3 separate regions of the Homo sapiens genome follow, and regions 1 and 2 are each linked to region 3. The links are contacts of gene promoters, found by promoter capture Hi-C in human tissues and cell types (Jung and others, 2019). All regions are on one chromosome and are shown on one strand. Each heading gives the region's core, a stretch centred on a gene start or on the middle of the fragment in contact. The rest is flanking DNA. Distances are from core to core; before and after follow the strand shown. Region 1 holds the start of VSTM1 (V-set and transmembrane domain containing 1). Region 2 holds the start of CNOT3 (CCR4-NOT transcription complex subunit 3). Region 3 holds the start of ZNF331 (zinc finger protein 331).

Region 1 (3,834 bases), core at 1,335-3,834, 530 kb before region 3:
CCGGGAGGCAGAGGTTGCAGTGAGCCGAGATCTCACCACTGCACTGCAGCCTGGGCGACAGAGCGAGACTCCGTCTCAAAAAAAAAAAAAAAAAAAAAGTCAACATTTATGTTTTGTTGTTACATTTTGTTTTCAAGATTTGTTGCTGTTTCTTGTTAATAGTCTTATTATTTTTCGTAAATATCATTCTTATTTTATAACTATTGTCTCCTCTGTTATAACTCTGAGGATGTGCTTATCAAAGCAATATTCCTCCTCTTCCTCCACTAACCACAGGTTGGTCCTTCTCTATCCACAGACCACACAGCTGCCAAGGGTAGCATGCGCTAGAGCTGCCGATCCTTAGAGTTTCCTGTGCAGCCAGCATTTCCAGCTGTTTGAGAGCCGCACCAGGACAGGACGATGGCTTTCTTCCCATCCTCCTCACTTAGGACAGGACGGGGTGGGCACAGGGACCCATCCAGCAAGTTATTATTTTTGTAGTTATTAAGATAGAAAGTATAGGCCGGGCATGGTGGCTCACACCTGTAATCCCGCCTCAGCCTCCCAAAGTGCTGGGATTACAGCGGTAAGTCATCATGCCCAGACGATTATTTTTTATTTGTATACGTTTATGGGGTACAAGTGTAACTTTATTGCATGGATAGATTCCAAAATGATGAAGTTAGGGCTTTCAGGTATCCACTAACCCAGTGACACACATTGTATCCATTAGATAATTCTTTTTTTTTGATGGAGTCTTGCTCTGTGACCCAGGCTGGAGTGCAGTGGCGTGATCTCAGCTCACTGCAACCTCCGCCTCCCGGGTTCAAGCGATTCTCCTGCCTCAGCCTCCTGAGTAGCTGGGACTATGGGCGTGTGCCACCACGCCCGGCTAATGTATCCATCATCATAACACACAACCATTTGAATGAATCTCACAGGCATTGTGCTGAGTGAAAAAGGTCACCCTCAGAAGGTGAGGCGATGGACGATTCCATTTATACAAGAGTCTCAAAGTGACAAAGTGATAGAGACGTAGAACAGATTAGCAGGTGCTAGGGTGGGAGAGCGATTATAAAGGGGCAGCATGAGGGAGTTCCTACGTGGTGGTGGGACAGTTCTGTGTCTTGATTGTGGCGGTGGTTCTATAAAGCCATACATACAGGCAATAAAATGTTACAGAACTATACCCATAGGCAAAGAAAAGGGAGGAGGAAAAGAAGGTGGAAGAGGAGGAAGAGCAGGAGAAAAGAAGGAAAAGGAGAAAAGGAAATAGAAATAGAAGGAAGAGGAAGAGAAAAAGAGAAACGAATTATGCACAAACTGGTGAGATCTGAGTGACCTCTGGAACCTGGTTAAACGTGTGATGCCAGTGCAAAGTCTCTGGTTTTGAAAATGTGCCATACGCCGGGCGTGGTGGCTCACGCCTGTAATCCCAGCAGTTTGGGAGGCCGAGGCAGGCGGATCGCCTGAGGTCAGAAGTTCGAGACCAGCCTGGGCAACATGGCAAAACCTCGTTTCTACTAAAAAGAACAAAAAAAATTAGCCAAGAGTGGTGGCGGACACCTGTCATCCCGGCAACTCGGGAGGCTGAGGCAGGAGAATCGCTTGAACCCGGGAGGCAGAGGTTGCAGTGAGCCAAGATTGTGCCACTGCACTCCAGCCTGGCTGACAGAGATTCTGTCTCAAAAAAAAAAAAAAAAAAAAAAAGTACTGTAATTATAAGAGATTACCATTGGCCGGGCACAGTGGCTTATGCCTGTAATCCCAGCACTTTGGGAGGCTGAGGTGGGCGGGTCACTAGAGACCAGGAGTTCAAGACCAGCCTGGCCCACATGGTGAAATCCCATCTCTACAAAAAATTAGCTGGGTGTGGTGGTGCATGCTTGTAATCCCAGCTACTTGGGAGTCTGAGGCAGGAGAATCCTTAAACCCATGAGGCAGAGGTTGCAGTGAGCCGAGATCGCGCCACTGCACTCCAGCCTGGGTGACAGAGCAAGACTCTGTCCCCCCCGCCCCCCAAAAAAAGGTTAACATTGTGGGGAGCTGGCTAGTGGGTACACGGAAGCTATAAAGCTATAGGTATTAATGTTTGTTTGTTTGCTTGTTTGAGACAGTTTCACCGTTGTTGTCCAGGCTGGAGTGCAGTGGCACAATCTTGGCTCACAGCAACCTCCGCCTCCTGGGTTCAAGCCATTCTCCTGTCTCAGCCTCCGGAGTAGCTGGGATTACAGGCATGCGCCACCATGCCTGGCTAATTTTGTATTTTTAGTAGAGACGGGGGTTTCTCCATTTTGGTCAGGCTGGTCTTGAACTCCCGACCTCAGGTGATCCGCCCGCCTCAGCCTCTCAAGGTGCTGGGATTACAGGCGTGAGCCACCGCGTCCGGCCGGTATTAGTGTTTTAAAATAAAAAATTACATTTACAGAAAACTCTTGGCAGAACTTCAGATAAGGTAGGACAGAGCTCGGGCGGGTGGGGCCACACACACCGGATTCATGGGGAAGAAGTTATCATCGACGGCTTCTTGTTTCCTGAGTCGGTTGTGAGAAGGAAACTGCAAGAGTGGGGCAGAGAACCAGAGTGTCAGAGCAAAACCTCCTCTATCTGCACATCCTGGGGACGAACCGGGCAGCCGGAGAGCTGCGGCCGGCCCAGTCCCGCTCCGCCTTTGAAGGGTAAAACCCAAGGCGGGGCCTTGGTTCTGGCAGAAGGGACGCTATGACCGCAGAATTCCTCTCCCTGCTTTGCCTCGGTGAGTCTCCAGGACTGGGACGAATGGGCTTGGGCTGGTGAGAAAAACTCATGTGGGAGTGGCAGTCCAGGTGGAAATGCGGTGTGTGGAAGTAATGACTTCCAGGTGTTGCACACCTGCGGTGGGTGGGTCTGGGCTGTGGGTTCTGTGAGTTCTGCCGCCCACATGCAAGCGAGGAGGAGGCCGCGCTGCAGAGACACGGGGACAGACTCCGCTGGGAAAGGCAGAGCTGCTGTGGGGTCTCCGAGTCTGCAGCCGCTAAATACCGCAGTACTGCCATCATCCTCCGTCGGAATAGAGGAGGGCTGGGCTTAGGGATCTACAGGGTGCAAGGCTGTGGGCAAAAAGACAATTTTCTTCTCTCTCTCTCTTATTTATTTATTTATGTATGTATGCATTTATTTATGAGACAGAGTCTCACTCTGTAGCCCAGGCTGGAGTGCAATGGCGTGATCTGGGCTCACTGCAACCTCCGTCTCCCAGGTTCAAGCGATTCTCCTGCCTCAGCCTCCCGAGTAGGTGGGACTACAGGTGCAGGCCACCACACCCGGCTGACTTTTGTATTTTAAGTAGAGACGGGGTTTCACCATGTTGGTCAGGCTGGTCTCGAGCCCCTGACCTCAGGTGATCCGCCCGCCTCAGCCTCCCAAAGTGCTGGGATTACAGGCGTGAGCCACCACACCTGGCCCCAAGAAGACAATTTTCTGACCAGCTCGATTCTTAGGCTGATTTTAACCATCCTCCAATTGAACCTGATGTATTCAGACAGAGCTCACACTGTGAAACGGATGACCTGGGTTATAATCTCGGCTTTACTACATAGAAACTCTAGGCTTGACCCAGCAGAGCTCCACCTCCCTAAGGCCCCAGTTCCTCCCTGGTGCACGGGGGGTGCGGTGGACATCGACGTGCTTCGTCTGCTTCAGTTCCTTCCTCCTTTTCTGGGTGCAGCCCTTCCTTGTGGGGTAATGCTCGTCTCCTACACACATTTGCACCTTAGATGAGCATTTTTTTTTTTTTTTGACAGAGTCTTGCTTTGTCTCCCAGGCTGGAGTGCAGTGGTGTGATCTCAGCTCACTGCAACCTCCACCTCCTGG
Region 2 (4,233 bases), core at 750-3,249, 600 kb before region 3:
CTTGAGACTCAGGTATCTTACATCCACACAGCCAGGAAACTATGCCTTACCCCATACAGTGACAAATCAAGAGGGGGTTTTGGAAGCATTAGCCGGGGGCACCTGCATCCGAGAGGGGTCCTCAGCCTTACGGTGGGGACACATGCAGAGGCGTGGACACCTCAAATCCAGAAAAGCAGCCATACCAATACCAAGGATGGCAAGAACCTTATCCCTGGGGGAGGTGACACCAAGAAAGGGTCCTTACCCTGGAGAGAAGGCACAGCCCCAGAGGGAAGAGCCCCCACCTCGCAGTACAGGAACCCGGGTCTAGGAAGCTTCCTACTCTCATGGGGTACCAGCAGCGGGGCCAGAAGGCGAAACCCTTGTTCTCCAACTGCTGACACCCAGCGTAAGGGTAGATGGGAAGTCAACAAACCCACAGTGTGGGATCTGATGCAAATATCAAGGGCAGTGGGCTTCTTGGTCCTTGGAGAGCTGACACCCTAAAGGAGGAGACTGGTGTGAAGATGGAAGAAGCCTCATACTCAGGCAGGGGTGAAGGGAGGGAGGGGAGACATCAAAACCCCTCACCAAAAGGACAGGAGAGCTCACCCCGGGGTGGGTGGCCGCCCTGCACTGAGAGGCAGGGACTGCTCAGAAAGAGGGGCTGGTGCTGCCCGCAGTGGGAGCTCACTAACATGGACAGCGTGGCGGCTTAGTGTCTTTCACCAGGCACCTGAGCGCCAGGGGATCCCAGCAGCCCCCAGCAACAAGACCACAGTGGTCCTGATATCACTGGGAGACGCCCACACCCAGAAGGTCGGAGAGTCACGATGCAGGGGAGTTCAAGGCTGCAAAGCCAGGGGCAGACGCCAGGATCAAAGAAGTGTGAGAGCTGAGACCAGACGTGGGCCACACTGAGGACGGTCCTGTACCCCAGGTGGGGGAAAGCCAAACTCCCCCAAAAAGGCAGGCGCCCAGTGCAGCGGGATGGCGAGGCTGGAGCCACCCAGGGCGCTACTCGCTATGAGAGGGAAGAGCTGCAGACTACAGAGGTGGAAACTTCGGCAAAGGCTCCAACTAACGGGGAGTTTCTCCTCCACTCCTCTCCCAAGAGGCTCCCATCCGATACAGACGGGCAGCTGGAACCTGAGATCCAGGGGAGGCTGCGCTCCCGGGAGCAGTGAGGAGGGATGCGGAGGGCGGCCTCGGTCCTGGGAAGGGTGACTCCCCCACCCAGCTGGGGTCCTCGTCCCGACCACCACCCCCCCTCCCCGCCACCGTCGAGGGAGAAGCCCCGGCGCGGAGGCTGCCCCACAACGCGAAGGACCGAGGCCGAGGGGGGCAGGCACCTGAGCCCCGAGAGGGCGGGCACCTGGGACCAGGGGCGCCTCCATCCTTCCAGCCAGGAGCCAATACCGACGCGGAGAGGGGCGGGCACCTCGCGCCCGGGAGGCTTCGCACCCTCACACCCCTACCGGGGGGCCCGACGCGATGCCACGCGGGGAGGCGGCGGCGGGCGGGGCCCGGGGTCCGGGTCGCGGAAGGACCCCCGGGAGGCGCTGAGGAACGTGAAAGAGGCGCAGGAACGGGAGGGCGAGAGGGAGGGAGCCGCCCCCCGCCGGGAGCCCCGCGCTGCAGAGGCGGCGGCAGGGGGCAGGCGAGGGGAGGCCATGTCGCGACAGACGGCGGTGTCGCCAGGGCGGGAGGCGGCGGGGAGGGCGGCCGATGGCGCCGGGGGGAGGAAGGGAAGGGGTCCGGCCCAGTCGAGCCTGACGCTCTCACCACAGGAGCTGGCGCCGCCGCTGAGGAGCGTATCGCGACAGGCGGGGGAGGCGAGCGCCCGCCGCCTTTTTCTCGCGCCCCGGGCCCGGGCGCTATCGCGATAGCGGCGCGAAGCGGAAGTGGGGTTGGGGGAGTGGGCCCGGGGTTGTTCTGACGACGGGGGTCGGGGCTCAAGGGAGGCCGCGGCGTCTGCCGATGGCTCCGCGGAAGCTGACCGGGCCCGGTCCAAGATGGCGGCGGCGGAGGAGGCCTCCCCTCCTCTCTTCTCGTCTCTGGCGCCGACCCGCCCCCGAGTCCCGAATATAGGCCAGTCATTGCTCCCGCTGAACGTCGCTCCTGACCCTTGGAGGCTTTCTATTGGTTCCTGGCAGGGATGCGCCCTGCCCCCTTTCGCGGATTGGGTGATCGCTCCAAGGCGCGGCGTTCGATTGGCCTCCCGCGCAGGCTGCTAGGATTGGCTCAGGTTTTCCTCCCCGCTCCTCCTCCTCCTCCCGCCTCAGGGCACAACACGCCAGCGCGAGGACCCGAACGTCAATCAAGAGACCTGTGTCGTGCTGATTGGATGTATCCGCCCCCCTCTCTTAAAACAATTGGTCTGGGGGAGGAGCTACGACAGTCCAGGGGCGGGAAGTCGTCCGTCAAGTTTAGAGCTCTTTTTAATTGGTTGCGGGGGCATATTCTGCCTTGAAGTCATTGGTTGGTCCTGGAAGTGGGTGGGGAAAGCGGAGGAAGGCATGGAGTGTGGGCGTTAGGGGCCGCGTACCTAATGGGAGACAGACAGGTGCCTTTAAAGCGGGGGCCGAGCCGAAGTCATCTGCCAATCAAAACAGCCACAGGGCCAAGTGGGAGGAGCTGGGCAAGAAAGTCCACCCCTTTTTCTTCGTTGGCCCTAAAAGTTATCATTCATGCTAGTTGGACCAATAGCGTGGCGAGTGGGCGGTAGCTGCTCGTAGAGCGTGTGAAAGAGGGTGTATGTAGCTGGCAGAAGTGGGACTTGGTCGCAACCGTTGCGTCCCGGCCAGGTAAGCAGCTTCCCTCTCAGCTGCCTCGTCTTTCTCCAAGTGCCTCTATGTTGGCACATCTCTGAAATTCATTATTTGCTGAGTGAAAGAAGAAAGGGACCAGAGACACTGCTTTAAGTCTCTGGCACCGTGCATAGCAGAATTGGTTGGGAAGCGTGAGGCATGGAGTTTTTGTCCTGCCCCTGCCTGGTTAGGCGACCAGATGGTGGGACAGTCATTCTCCTCTGCGTCTCCGCTTCCTTAGTGTGTTGAGGACGCTGCAGAAGGTACAGAGGAGACGGGTGGCTCCCTAATGCCTGCTCGTTTCAGGTCTCAGCTCTGTTGTCTTCTTGGAGAGAAAACTTCCCTGACCTCCCTCCCGGGCGGAGCGCTCCTGCGCGCCTTGTTCGTTAGGATTTATTTTTGTACGTCTACCGTCATTTTCGTAATTATTCGGTTTCCCTGTCTGGATTTTGCATCTCCAGCACTTAGCACGCAGGAAGTAGTCAGTAACCATTTGTCAAAGGAATAGATGAATGAATGTGAGGAATGACTTGTGATTGAAAACTTAACTAGACACTGAGACTTCCACGAACTGGGAGGCATTTGCCCAGGGTCACACAACCGAGATGGGAAGCCAGATTCGCCCCTTCCTGTCTAGGTGGTGGAAAGTAAGATAAATCCCAGGGAGAGGTGAACGTGAAGGAGGATGGAGCCGTTCAGCACCACCCGCATCAGAATGGTCTGAGGCAAGGGGGAGGAGGAATGCTTGCGAAAATGCATATTCGTAGGCCCACACACAGACAACGGGAATGAAGCCTAGAGTTATTGTTCTAGAGCTTTGCTATTCAAACTGTGGCCCCTGGACAAAGTATCGCTTCTCAGACATCTCCGGAATCACCTAGGAATGTGTTAAAATGCAAATTCTGCTTTTCTAACAAGTGCCGCAGTCCACGGTCCGCAGTTCACTTTGCACACCGCGGATCTAGCGATGACTTTCCAACTTGGCTGCACATCAGAGTCACCTGAGGAACTTGTTGTTATTGTTGTTGTTGTTGAGACGAAGACTTGCTCTTGTCCCCCAGGCTGGAGAGCAGTGGCACAATCTAGGCTCACTGCAGCCTCTGCCTCCCGGGGTTCAAGTGATTCTCCCGCCTCAGCCTCCCGAGTAGCTGGGATTACAGGCGCCCGCCACCACGCCCGACTAATTTTTGTATTTTTAGTAGAGACGGGGTTTCACCATGTTGGCCAGGCTGGTGTCGAACTCCTGACCTCAGGTGATCCGCTCGCCTCAGTCTCCCAAAGTGCTGGGATTACAGGCGTGAGCCACTGCGCCTGGCCTACCTGAGGAACTTTAAAAAAAAAAAATTTTTTTTAAATTAGAGGCCAGGCCGGGCCGGGAGAATCACTTGAACCCGGGAGGCAGAGGCTGCAGTGAGCCTAGATTGCGCCATTGCACCTGTAA
Region 3 (3,892 bases), core at 1,286-3,785:
TAATTAATCACCTGAGGTCAGGAGTTCGAGACCAGCCTGATCAACAAGGAGAAACCCTGTTTCCACTAAAAATACAAAAATTAGCTGCGGATGGTGACATGTGCCTGTAATCCCAGCTACTCGGGAGGCTGAGGCGGGAGAATCACTTGAATCTGGGAGGTGGAGGTTGCAGTGAGCCAAGATTGTGCCACTGCGCTCCAGCATGGGCAACAGAGCAAGCCTCCATCTCAATTACAGAAAAAAAAAGACTATCTCCTAGAGCCTCCAAGCACACACACCTCCTAGAGCTCTGCCAAAGAGCCTCCAAGCACACACATGTCCTCCGTGAGAGGACACAGCAAGATGGTGACAGTCTCCAACCTGGAAAAGGGCCCTCATCAGAACCTGACCATGCTGGTACCCTCTTCTCAGACTTCCAGCCTCCAGAACTGTGAGCAATAAATGTTTGTGGTTTCAGCCACCGGTCTATGGTACTTTGTTACAGACTAAGGTAAGAATAAATTAAGGAGTGTGTGCAAAACACAATAGAGTATGGTACAAAAATGCGCTCAATAAATGTGGCCAGGCTCCTCTCTTTTGAAGGATTCATGAATAATCCTAAATAATATACTAAAATGTCATGTTGGATAAGGTATTTACAAAAATCTTATTCAATGGAATTTGTAGGCAACTGAAGCATTTCCTTCATTTACTATTGTTAATAACTATTAGTAGTGTTTAATATTATGTCAGGTGCATTTTTCTTTCTTACGGTTATAACTAAACTTACTTCTTTGTAGCTGCAGAGTATTCCATGAAATGAACGTGGTATAATTACTTAACCATTTCCACCATCCTGAACAATAATTGTGGTCAAGGTACACAGCCTTCGATTGTAGACCAATGGGTCTAAATGTCTTTGGGGCATGTCCATCCTTCTTAATGCCATGAAATTACAGAGTATCTCCTTAGGGTGGTGGTGGTGGGGGACAGATACACTAACACTGATAATCACATACAGTAAATATACACAGAATGTCCCTTGGAAAGTTGTAAGTGGAGTTAAAGGCAGGCCCTCAGGTTAAGGATAACAGTTCTAGGCCATTTGAGGCTGTGGTTCATTTTGTGAACCTGCAAACACCCATCCCAGTTACCTTCATATGTACGTTGCTCCTGATGTACAGACATCCAGACTTAGCACAAAACAGCAGCACTCACTGTGCACTCCCACTCAGGGGTGCGCGTCTATGGGTTTTATGCGTGTTAATGCATTTCACCCTCCTCACAAGCCTATCTTCAGAAGGCTCAAAAAGCTAAGAGGCAGAAACAGGACTCAAATCTTGGTCATCTACCTTTAATGTTTGGTCTTAAGTCTTATAAACACATATCATTTAATATAAAAAAAAAAGGATACTCACCTGACCCTTTCAGATGTTTAACGATTCGTCTTCCTCCTCGGGGATGCTTTTTCTGAAGGATGCTGGCCTGGGGAAAACAGAACCGGAAGGGTAACACCTGCCATACCTAATAAAACCAATGAGAAATACGAGGCCCCGAGATGGAGTTTCTGGGAGATTCCTGAAGAGCACGCTGTGGCGATTGAGATGATGACGCGTGGAGCTGCCCCCCTCCCTGTCTCCCACATCAGGGACCTGTCCCTCTACAGGAGGAATTCTACTCCTGAGGCCACCGTCCCCTGTCACTCAGGTGGCCTGCATGCACAGCACTTCTGGCTCTGAAAGCGTCACCTCATGGCTGTTTCTGCCTTCTTGCTGGTGAATTTCCAGGCGAGGCTCAGGCGCTCACGTCCCTCCGCGGCCCTTGTTCTCAGGCAGGTACCGCTTGGTTAGGAGGTGAAGGCAGGGGAAGCAGCAGAGACGCTGGAGCTACAAGTTGCACTGTCACACACACCTGCATCACTCAGAAGGCCCGATCATCCATCCCAGCACAGAGACGCTGAAGCTACAGGTTGTGTTGTCACACACACCTGCGTCACCCAGAAGGCCCGATCACCCATCCCAGCACAAGTCTGCACAGCTCAGCCTCACCACAGCTCACTCTGTCCTGAGACACATCTGCGCCCCTCATACCCACTAACGCCCAGCACGGCCATGCTACGGGCCCCACCACCCCACACGGTGCAGAGGTGCATCCGTGGGCCACGGAGACCCGTCCCGACCGCTGCCCCCGCACAACCCCCAGAGCGCACCTCACGGAGCAGAGTCCCAGGGACGCACCGCCGAGGTTCACAGGCACGGGCTGCGTTGACCCAAAGCCTCTGGAGCACCCCCGGTCACCAGTTATGGGGAGAGCCCGGCTGTGTCACCCCACACTCTCCAGCAAGTGCGTCACCGTCAGAAGCCCCGTGCCCGTCTCCCCTCGGAGCCACGCGCACCAATCTCACCTGCGCGGACTGGCGGAGATGCAGCGGCTGCGTCACTGGTGCAAACGCGCACCCAGCACGGCCCCCATCGCCCCCAATGACGCTCGCGTGCACCCGTGTCACAGTTACGGGGACAGGGCCGCCGCGTCAGCCTCGTACTCCCACGCAAGTGCGTCACACACTCGGTCCCGCCACCCCCTGGAGGCCAGCGCGCATGCGCACGCGCACCCAGCGGCCGCAGCGCGCAGACAGCAGCAGAGCCCGACACGCATGTGCACACAGACCCCTACACGTATGTGCACGTACCCAGACCCCGACACGTATGTGAGCGTACACAGACCCCCGATACATAGCGTGCTCAGCTGTTGACGTGCCTGTGCGGGCACACAGACCCTGACGGGCGTGTGCGCACGCACAGATGCCGACACGCATGTGCAGACACAACAGAGCCCGACACACACGTGCGCCTGCACAGATGCTGACACGCGGACACACTGACACGTGTGCGTGCACCCCTCCCATCCCTTTCCCTCCTCCCACTCTCCCAAAGCCGCAGACGCACCCGGTAGTCCCCCAACGCTGGGGCCTCGGGAGAGGGTGAGGCTAGAAGAGGACGCGGGGCCGTCGGGGGAAACCAGAGCCCCAAGCCCCGTGTTCCAGCATGCAGCACGGCGTACTCCTGGATGGTCTCTGGGAAATGTAGTCCGGGACGGTCCCAGGCAGGGGCCTCAGGGCGCGTCCCAGGTCGGTGCCGGAGCGGGCAGCCCCAAGCTAAGCCCTTCCTGGTCCCTGCAGACGCCCCTTCCCGACTGGGAAAGGAGCTGTGTCACCCCAGCTGGGACCCCGTCTGGCCTCTTGAGTGGGGTGATGCCGGGCGAGCCATGGCTGTCCTCAGAAGGGTATCCTCTCCTAGCCCCTCTGGAGCGTCACCTGGAATTCTCTGCAGGCCGCTAGCACAGGCTGCCGGAGCTGCTATTCGGTGTCCCTTGCTTGCTGCATTGTAAACAATGTACAGGTAGCAGTTATGCCCCGTGAGTCCCGCTCTCATTCCAAGTACTAACGTCACAGGGTCTACAGGATGTTGCAGGTACTTAACCACAGTCTCATTTTGACTCAAAATCCCACTTTTTGGTATTTATGCCAAGGAAGTAGCTATAGTTGTACACAATGTTGAAGTATGTTCACAAAATGCTTTTTTTCTGAAAATCTTTTTCTCTTTTAATTAGATAGACTTTAGATTCATATGTAGTTACAAGAAATAAAATTGAGAGATCTTGTGTACCTTTCACCTGGTTACCTCAGCTGGTGATTGTAGTATATAATACCACAACCAGAAGATTAACATTGATGTAATCCACTGACGTTACCCAGAATTTCCAGAGAATAATTTTTTGTTTGTTTGTTTGTTTGTTTTGAGACGGAGTTTCGCTCTTGTTGCCCAGGCTCAAGTGCAATGGTGCGATCTCGGCTCACTGCAACCTCCGCCTCCTGGGTTCAAGGGGTTCTCCTGCGTCAGCCTCCCCAGTAGCT

The links. The method cuts DNA at HindIII sites, captures the fragments that hold promoters and counts their contacts. A contact is called where the count stands out against the background at its distance.
Region 1: a contact is called between the fragment with the promoter of VSTM1 here and the fragment with the promoter of ZNF331 in region 3, in 2 of the 25 tissues and cell types used here (lymphoblastoid cells and mesenchymal stem cells).
Region 2: a contact is called between the fragment with the promoter of CNOT3 here and the fragment with the promoter of ZNF331 in region 3, in 3 of the 25 tissues and cell types used here (dorsolateral prefrontal cortex, hippocampus and lymphoblastoid cells).

What each region holds. Positions count from the first base shown.
Region 1 is chr19:54,062,647-54,066,480 of GRCh38, reverse strand. It overlaps VSTM1 (V-set and transmembrane domain containing 1), which reads left to right and starts at 2,584. Exons shown (of 9, transcript NM_198481.4): 1 at 2,584-2,737. The coding sequence starts at 2,704. The HindIII fragment of the contact is 40,052 bases long and covers 1-3,834 here.
Region 2 is chr19:54,135,528-54,139,760 of GRCh38, reverse strand. CNOT3 (CCR4-NOT transcription complex subunit 3) reads right to left here and starts at 1,999. Exons shown (of 18, transcript NM_014516.4): 1 at 1,768-1,999. The HindIII fragment of the contact is 23,783 bases long and covers 1-4,233 here.
Region 3 is chr19:53,536,788-53,540,679 of GRCh38, reverse strand. It overlaps ZNF331 (zinc finger protein 331), which reads right to left and starts at 2,535. Exons shown (of 6, transcript NM_001079906.2): 1 at 2,384-2,535; 2 at 1,398-1,464. RefSeq lists enhancers at 2,456-2,505, 2,291-2,807. The HindIII fragment of the contact is 21,395 bases long and covers 1,760-3,892 here.